2 separate regions of the Homo sapiens genome follow, and region 2 is linked to region 1. The links are contacts of gene promoters, found by promoter capture Hi-C in blood cells and fetal thymus (Javierre and others, 2016). All regions are on one chromosome and are shown on one strand. Each heading gives the region's core, a stretch centred on a gene start or on the middle of the fragment in contact. The rest is flanking DNA. Distances are from core to core; before and after follow the strand shown. Region 1 holds the start of CYBB (cytochrome b-245 beta chain). Region 2 holds the start of TASL (TLR adaptor interacting with endolysosomal SLC15A4).

Region 1 (4,890 bases), core at 1,385-3,884:
CCTTCACTCTACTGTCCTAGTCAACAGATGTGGCCCTTGAGCAAGTTCCTCGAGTCTTTATATGTAGAGAGAGATTTATTTTCTGAAGATCATTTCATAACATGTGATTAGGAGCAGAGCTCTTCATGCAAAAAAGTACTAGGAATTAGGTGACTTAGAAAATATGGAAAGTCCCACTTGTCCCACATGTGTCACTCCTGGATGGATTGCTCCAACCTGCCCTTCCATTTCAGAGTGAGTATTAGATTTCTCCTTTAAGCTAAACAATGGCACATGGTTCTTGGTTGGGGAAGGATGCCACTGGGGCCCTCTGCCCCACTTTTGTTGGTCCCAGACTGGAAGGCTTTAAGTGACTGTTGCCCAGGAAGTTGCAATGGAGGGAGTGAGGCTAATGGTACTGTTTGGGTTGGTCAGAATATGTATTTAAAATGCTAACAGGAAGATGAACAAGAATGTCTGATGAGAAATGTGAACCAGCCAATATTGCATGGGATGGAATTTATACTTACCCCAAGAAGTTTTCTTGTGTAAAAGAACTTAGGTGGAATATCATAAACCCGGTAATACCAGACAAAGAGGAAGACGTTCAACCCCAGCCAAACCAGCTGCACAAACAGAAATAATTGCATGAAGTTTCCGCATTTCCACAGTAGATTCCACACAAGACTGGAGTCAGATAAGGGTCAGGACTTCCCCAAGTCCAACTTTGACAAAGGTAGTGACAAAGCTGGATATAACCAGCTTAGAGCCAGCTCTTTCCTCAACAGTGTCACTACACTTGTCTATAATTAAAACCTCTCCACCCTGTGTTGTTCCCCATGATTGTTTTATGATTTGGCCAGTATACCAAATTATCAGTCTTACATTACCCCACTCCCTTTTTTTCCCCTCTCTTTTGCTTAACCTTGGATAGGTAGCTGATAGCAGGCCACTCCACTTAAAATGAGAAAGGAAGGGAACATATTACTATTGCTTTCCCTCCACCAGTATGACACTGCGTTCTGTTCTCACAGGTGCTAATCACCTCCCTCTACCACACAGTAATCCAGCTAGTGAATTCTCATCAGCTAAAATGCCAAGCCTTCCATTTTCCTTGATTAGTTTTACTTAATGCTTCAAGGAGAGAATATTGAGCATAGTGAGGGGCTTGGGATTTACAACAAAAACAGCTTTCTAGATCATGACAGTTCATTTTATCCTAAGCACTGACTGGATCAAGTGGTCACACTACCCAGTTCTCTACCTTCAGCTCCATAGTGATCTTTTCTCAACTATGCTTTGAAGCTATTATATGCTCTAGACACTTGATAATATTCTCTCTTTACAAAGAAAAAAGTGCTAAAGCAACTTCCCAATTTCCTGATCTTGTCATTCTTTCTTTACTCTGACTTTCCAAGCTGTGTTTTCACTTTCAAGTGCATGAGTATATAATTTAGAAGGAGGTCATTTCCTGGGAAAAATTGTGGCGAGAGCTAAAAGTTTAATTTGAACTTACTTTCTATAGAAATTATTTGCCCTTAAAAATGGTGATAAGAAGTTAAGTTTACAGCTTCGAATACTCGGAAGAATTCTCTGTTGCAGTAGAATGTTGGTTTGGCGTAAACATTTTTTATAACAAAATATTTGTTGTTTTTATTTGTGCCACTAATTGCTTTCTATATTTAAAACTCAAAGACTCATTATTTTTCATGATAAATTTTTACAAAAGCTCCATTCATATTCCATTCATAATTGTACTTTTTAACATCTGTGTAATGCTTCTATTGGTTATTTAGAAAGGCTATTTAAAAATCGTATTTCTATCTACCCAATTTGTCCATTATTGCTTTGCTGATAACACCATTTTAAGAGAACAGTTGATTTTCTTTGTTTTAAAAAGTACAGAAATCATTCTGTCCACTTGTAAATTAGCTATATCTTTACTTACATAGTTTCTCCAGACTATATTGATTTATATATATATACAATTATATATAAATATACATACTACATATTTATGAATCTAGATGACTTATTTCAATTCTGTTCTTTTGAATTTTTATAAATCTTATAAATAACTCAAGTTTAGATCTCTGAAAAAAGAAGGTACTTGTTTTTGAAAATAAATTTGAGAAGTTTTATTATATTTAGTGTAATTACTGAAATAAAGGCCTACTTCCCATACATGAGTCAATCTTATATTTTTTATTTAGAAAATGGTATAAAATTTCAATTTGTCATTTTTAAAGTAGTATAAACACATAGACATGTGCGTCTGAGTAAACATTACTAAACAACTCAGAATCAGAGATCATTAGCATGAAATATTTTCTACTCCTTCTGCGAAATGCTGGCTAATTTATTCCTCCTAGGAATTCAGAAGTAAGCTAGAAGTGAGCCCCCAGATATGTTCTTTCCATTAAGGAATTTGGAAGAATGGACTCAGTCTGTTTACAGATAGATATAGGTTCACATGGTAAATCAGTTTCAACACAATTCCTCAAATGAACAAAAAAGCTTTGGTCTATTTTAGTTCCAAGATAACCCCGAGAAGTCAGAGAATTTATAACTTATCTCTTGTTGGTACTTACAATGACAAAAATGGAGAGCCCCTCATTCACAGCCCAGTTCCCCATGGTGGCAGAGGTTGAATGTGTTGTGTTTGCCTTTCTTCTATACTATGCTTCTTCTTCCAATGAGGAAATGAAAACAGCAGCCCTGGGGCAATCGGTTTCCTTTTCTTTTATCAGAAATTGGCTAATAATCATTGGTCAACTGAAAAGCTTGCATCCATAACAAACTTAAATCTTTAAACCTCAACAACTACAAAAAAAGGGTCTATAATGATCCAGTCACAATTAAACATAGTGGAAAATGAAACCAATTTCTACAACTAAGAGATAAATAACAGTGCATTTTAAGGGATGTATTTTACACAGTGAAATAACTTTTTAACTAACCAGCTATTTGATCACAATTTTTAAGCCACTCAACTAGACATGACTTCGTGCTGGGTAAAACACATTAAACAGGTGTGATTTTGACAGGCTGGAACAGCATTCATAGCCTTGCTGAGAAAAGTAGTAACAATTGTAATGGTTGATATTTACAAAATGCTTAATATGTGCCAATTTTATGTGCTATATATGTCTATATATGTGTGTGTGTATGTTCATGTATAGCTATCATATATATATATATATATATATATATATATATATATATAATTTGAAACATACATATATAAATACAGATGCTTTGGCCAATGATGAACCACATGTATGACAGTGGTCCCATAAGATTATAATGGTGTTGGCCAGGCACGGTGGCTCACGCCTGTAATCCCAGCACTTTGAGAGGCTGAGTGGGGTGGATCACTTGAGGTCAGGAGTTTGGGACCAATCTGGCCAACATGGTGAAACCCCGTCTCTACTAAAAATACAAAAATTAGCTGGGCATGGTGGTGGGCACCTGTAGTCCCAGCTACTCAGGAGGCTGAGGCAGGAGAATCACTTGAACCTGGGAGTCAGGTTGCAGTGAGCCGAGATTGTGTCATTGCACCCCAGCCTGGGCGACAGAGCAAGACTCCATCTCTCTCTCTCTCTCTCTCTCTCTCTCTCTCTATATATATATATATATATATACATATATATATAATATATAATATAATATATAATATATATACTTGTGTGTGTGTGCTGAAAAATTCCTACCATCTAGTGACATTGTAGCATAACACATTACTCATGTGTTTGTGGCAATGCTGGTGTAAACAAACCTACTGAGCTGCCAGTTGTAAAAGTATAGCACATACAATTATGTACATTACATAGTACTTGATAGTAAAAATAGATGACTATGTTACTGGTTCATTTATTTACTAGACTATACTTTTAATCATTATTTTAGAGTATACTCCTACTTATAAAAAAGTTAACTGTAAAAGAATCTCAGGCAGGTCCTTCAGAAGGTATTCCAGAAGAATGCATTGCTGTCATAGATGACAGCTTCATGCATGTTAGTGCCCTTGAAGACTGTCCAGTGGGGCAAAATGTGGAGGTGGAAGACAGTGATATTAATGATCCTGACTTTGTGTGGGCCTAGGCTAATGTGTATGTTTGTGTCTTAGCTTTTAACAAAAATGTTTTAAAGGTAAAATATAAAAATAAAAAATTTAAAAACAGAATAAAGCTTCTAGATATGGATATTAAAACATTTTTGTACAGCTGTAAAATTTTTTTTGTTTTAAGCTTAGGGTTATTACAAAAGAGTCAAGAAATTAAAAAAGCAAAAGTTTATAAATAAAAAGTTACAGTAAGCTAAATTTATTTCATTATTGAAAAAACAAAATGTTTTGCATATTTAGTATAGCCTAAGTGTACAGTGTTCATAAAATCTATAGGAGTGTACAAAAATGTTCTAGGCCTTCCTATCCATTCACCACTCACTCACTGACACATAGAGTAACTTCTAGTTCTCCAAGCTCTACTCATGGTAAGTGCCTTATACAGGTGTACCATTTTTAATCTTTTATACTTTATTTTTATTGTCTATTTTCTATGGTTAACTATGGTTAGATACCATTGTGTTAGAATCTCTGACAGTATTCAGTACAATAAAAAACGATAAGGTTTGTAGCCTAGCAGCCATAGGCTATACCATGTAGCCTAGGCGTGTAGTAGACTATACCATCAGGTTTATGTAAATACACTCTATGATTTTCACACAACAACAAAATCACCTAAGGATACATTTCTCAGAACAAATCCCCCATAGTTAAGTGATATGACTGCATATATGTGTGTATTACACATATAGACACACATGCAAACACACACACATCAATTCATTTGATCCTCACAACTCAACCACTGTAAAGCAGATTCTATTATTATGATTATATTTACAGAT
Region 2 (4,890 bases), core at 1,180-3,679, 7.2 Mb after region 1:
ACCCCATTTTTCATGATGTAATTATTATGCATCATATGCATGTATCGAAACATCTTATGTACCCCATAAATATATACACCTACTGTATACCTACAAAAATTAAAATACAAAATTTTAAAAAGAAATATTCTATTACATAAGCATGTATATACATATATTCCTTAAAAATACAAACTGGAAAATGAGTTCTTGCTAAACAATATATGTTAGAGATCTTTTTTTTTCTTTTTTTTTTTTTTTGAGATGGAGTCTCGCTCTGTCACCCTGGCTGGAGTGCAGTGGCACAATCTCAGCTCACTGTGACCTCCACCTCTCGGGTTCAAGGGATTCTCATGCCTCAGCCTCCGAGTAGCTGGGATTACAGGTGCCCACCACCACGCGTGGCTAAGTTTTGTATTTTTAGTAGAGACAAGGTTTCACCATGTTGGCCAGGCTGGTCTCAAACTTCTGACCTCAAGTGATCCACCTGCCTCGGCCTCCCAAAGTGCTAGGATTACAGGCGTGAGCCACCGCACACAACCTACATAGGATTTTAAGTATGCATACGTTCTCATTTACTTGGCCAATATCTTATTTATGGATATAATTTTTTCTAGTCATTTATTTTCTCAAGCAATGCTGCAACAAATATCTTTTCACATAAGTCTTTGTGTACAAGTGTAAACATATAGCTTGGACAAATTTATAAAAAATACAATTGTTGGGTCAAAGGGTATGAATATTTGTATTTGAGAGATACTGGGAAATTGCCCTCTAAATATGTTTACAATCTCATCAGTAGTGTTTGAGAGTGCTTGTTTCTTCACAACTTTGCCCACACCATGTATTATTGTTTTGACCTTCGGTATTTGGAGAGGGAAAACTTTTTTCTTTTTTTTTTCTTTTGAGACGGAGTCTCGCCCTGTCGCCCAGGCTGGAGTGCAGTGGCGCGATCTCGGCTCACTGCAAGCTCCACTTCCCGGGTTCACGCCATTCTCCTGCCTCAGCCTCCCGAGTAGCTGGGACCACAGGCGCCCGCCACCGCGCCCGGCTAATTTTTTGTATTTTTAGGAGAGACGAGGTTTCGCCGTGTTTGCCAGGATGGTCTCGATTTCCTGACCTCCTGATCCACCTGCCTCGGCCTCCCAAAGTGCTGGGATTACAGGCGTGAGCCACTGCGCCCGGCCGAGAAAATTTTTTTCATTTACATTTTTAAAAATTATAAGTACCATTGAGAAATAATACTTCTTAAAAATTATAGATTAGTAACGAAACAGAATTTCCTAAAGTCATATGTGACTTTGGCTTTCTTTTGGGTGAAGGATCCCAGATAATGTACTTTTCTAGAAAGGAAATTTAATTCTGTTGCTAGGGTTCTTACAAAATGTGTAACCATAAACTATTTTAATAAGAGACAGTTTCGTAGATAGGTTTCATTTTTCGAAAAAGGGGAAGAAACACCATTCTGTGGCTTGATGTGGCTTTGTCAGTTACTGCCTCCCCACCTCCCGGGACTTCCCACTGCCTCTTTAGCACAAATCGGACTTGAACAAAAACAACTCTTTTTCCATGGGACCAATTATAAAAAGAATGGCTTTGCACTGAGCAGCTCAGTCTACTGGTCTCATCAGTGAAAGGCTTGTGAAAATTTCTGGAAAGAGCATTGGCTGGCTTGTTCATCTCTCTGTTTGGTCAGTTGCTGTGTTTCTGCCGGATCAGATGAGCAGATTGGTTAGTGAAGGTAAGAAAAAGAAAGCAAAGGACCCTAGAACTCCGCTATTATTTTTTGTCATCTGTCTTCTCACGCTTTCTTAGCCCTTTATCACGAGAGCGCTGATCCATTCTTATGACATCTAAAATGCTTTTCTAGCTTACCATATCAGAGACAAGTGGGAGTTTAAACAAGCATTCAGTGGAGTTGAAAAATAAAGAGAAATTAAGCCCAATACTTCCTTTCCTTACCTCCTCGTGTCCACATTCTAAGCATTTCTAAAACACTTATATTTTTACCTACAATTTTTGACTGATCTGAGCAAATATTTATTGTGTTATTTTTGCAGTCCTCTTTCACTAATTGCCACACTGGTTTAGCTTCTGCATTTTTAAAAGAAGGCCTAAAAACCTAAGCAGGGTTTTGCAGGGACAACACAGCTCTTGAATTCAGTTACGGTGATGCAGTTTTAGAGACGAAAACAATCACAGTCCTTTCCAATTGGATTTGACTCTCAATTATTCAGTTCAGCAAGCTTGTGATAGTGTTTTTCTGTGTGGCAGGATGTATTCAAAATGAATGCGATCTATAGTGAGGATGCTTTTCGACTTTCATCTGGGTGATTTGGGGAAAGCTTCCCTTTTGGTATTAAAGATAGCGCATGTACGAGTGGAGTTTTGTTTGAATTATCTTTAGACTCGCTCAAACATTCTTTGTCTTGCGCATATGAATCTGTGCTTAAATATAGACCTGGTTTGGACAGAATATTTATATTGATATTTTATAACATTTCTTGCATAGGTCAGTGTGAGAAGAAGATTGTTTCTGAGCTTGAGAAGCTTCTGGAGGATTGAAGAGTATTTGAAGTCTGTGTCAAACATCCATATCATAAGTGGAATTTTGGAGATATTCAAAGGTAGTACACTAATTCTATTATCTCAGAGCAAAATGATGTTTGAAGTATTTATATCAAGTCACTGAGACATTTCTCATCTCATATGTAGTGATTATTTTAGATATATAAGATATTGTCCCTCTAGGCTCTTAATAAACATTATACAATGTAAATATGCCTTCATTAACTAAATATGGTTTTTTCCCCCTCCCAATTTTTATTTAGAAATGTTTCAAATCTATATAAAAATTGAAAGAATAGTACAACGAACACCCATATTTTCATCATGTGTATTAATCAGTGGTATCTTTTTGCCACATTTACTTTCTCTCTCGCTTTGTCTTTCTCTGTCTCTGCCTGTCCTTTTCTCTCTCTCTATATGTGTATATATATATTCACACACACGCATGCACATATGCACAGTTTTTTCCCTGAATGGTTTGAAAGTATGTTGCTGACTTTAGGACACATGTCACCCCTAAATTCTTGAGCATGTATCTCCTAAAAATAAAGGCAGTCTTCTATAACACATTACAACACCACGGAAACATAACATCAACACAATACTATTATCTAAGATGTGATACACATTCAAATTTTCCTAATTATCCACATGTCCTTTAGAATCTTTTTATGTTTTAAATCCAGGATCCAATCAAGAATCTTGCATTGCATTTGTAGTTGACATGCCTACAATTAAGTAAATGTTAATGAAATTGGCATAATTAACATGATTAACAATGATTAACAATTATAACACCAAAGAAATTTATATCAGTACAATACTATTATGATAGGTTTCTTATTTTTTTAGTCCTCTCATTTTGCATCAAAATACATTGAAAGTGATTCAAAAAATGATCCAAAAGGTTTAATTTTTCAATTTATATCAAGAAGGAGTATAAAGAAAAATCCAAACTATGATAAAATATATTTACTAATATTTCTGCACCAAAGTTTACATTTTCTGAACTAAGAAAATTCACACATCAGATCGTCCTTGGAAGTAGCCATTAACTTTGGTCATAAGAATCTAAGCAGAACCAAACAAAAAATTATTTATTTACTTGGTAATATTAATATGAAGAAGAGAGGGCTTTTGATTTATGATTGTATTATCTTAGCCATAAAGTTATACTTTCAGAAATTAATTTGTTAAGAATCACTTCATATTTGATACAAGAATAGATAATCCCAAATTATATGATTTGTAACAGAAATTGAAATATTAATGAGCAATATTTTAGAGCATTCATCAATAAATTCAATACAAGCTGAAATAATAGGGATATAATCTAAGGTATGTGATTAAGTGATTATTTCCAGCTCTAAGGAACAGGTATTTTTAAAGATAAGAGTAAGGAAACTGCAGATGCTATTTTATACAGGGAGGTCCTTCCTAAAGAAGCTTTTTGTTTAGGTAAAGGTCTAGCATCATTCACTGAAAAAAAACTGGAACATGTAATACAGATTTGGTTACATTATCATAATTAAATCATGAACAAAACAATATTCAAGTTTTTCAGTGATCACTTTTCAGCAATTTACCTGCAAGTCCCCCACACCAAGAAAGTCTTAAAAAGTTTACAATGGAATTATGGGATTTAGAATTTATATTATAGGGTAATATAATATAGAGGTAAAGAGATGAAATACAGGATTTTGAGTTTTGCAGGCATTAAAAAATAACACATGACCTACATATGATTTTAACAAGACTCTCTAATTTGAGACAAACATAAATTAGCTCATTTGATTGGAAAATTAAAAAAAAATAATGTGCTAAGGAATGTCAATGAAAACAATCTCAAACATTGCTGGTGAGAGAATAAATTGATCCAAGCTACTTGAAAGGAAATTTGGCAATAGCTTTGATCTGGTAATTCTGCTCCTCCAAATCTGGCCTGTGGAAATACTCACGGAGGCATATGCAATAATTACACATAGTGGAAAAGCAAGACTAATCTCAGTGCCCCTCAAGAGAAATGATTTACTAAAATAAGATGTGTCTTTAGATGTACTATTTCAAAACTCTTAAAAATTATATCTCTGTAAGCAGACATGTTGACAGGTAGAAGCCAAACTGTACCCCTGCTAGCTAGGCTCAAGATCACAAATGTTTTCCTGTCTGTAATTCCAAGATGTTGTAGCCCATGATGGTGGAAGGCAGTCCCATCCCATTGCCTCCATTTGTGTGTGGCCACTAATAGTTTTTGCGTCCATCTCAATCCAGCCTCTTTGGGTGTCTTAGTTTGCACACCTCCAAAATGTTCTTCAAGGGGCGGGATCTGTTTTGCCTCATCAT

What was found. The method cuts DNA at HindIII sites, captures the fragments that hold promoters and counts their contacts. A CHiCAGO score of 5 or more calls a contact.
Region 2: a contact is called between a fragment that was not itself captured here and the fragment with the promoter of CYBB in region 1, in 1 of 17 cell types (total B cells). The highest score is 6.7, in total B cells.

The regions. Positions count from the first base shown.
Region 1 is chrX:37,777,803-37,782,692 of GRCh38, reverse strand. It overlaps CYBB (cytochrome b-245 beta chain), which reads right to left and starts at 2,634. Exons shown (of 13, transcript NM_000397.4): 1 at 2,571-2,634; 2 at 510-605. The coding sequence starts at 2,615. RefSeq lists an enhancer at 2,543-2,592. The HindIII fragment of the contact is 266 bases long and covers 2,499-2,764 here.
Region 2 is chrX:30,574,468-30,579,357 of GRCh38, reverse strand. TASL (TLR adaptor interacting with endolysosomal SLC15A4) reads left to right here and starts at 1,592. Exons shown (of 3, transcript NM_025159.3): 1 at 1,592-1,720; 2 at 2,492-2,606. RefSeq lists an enhancer at 1,361-1,570. The HindIII fragment of the contact is 205 bases long and covers 2,327-2,531 here.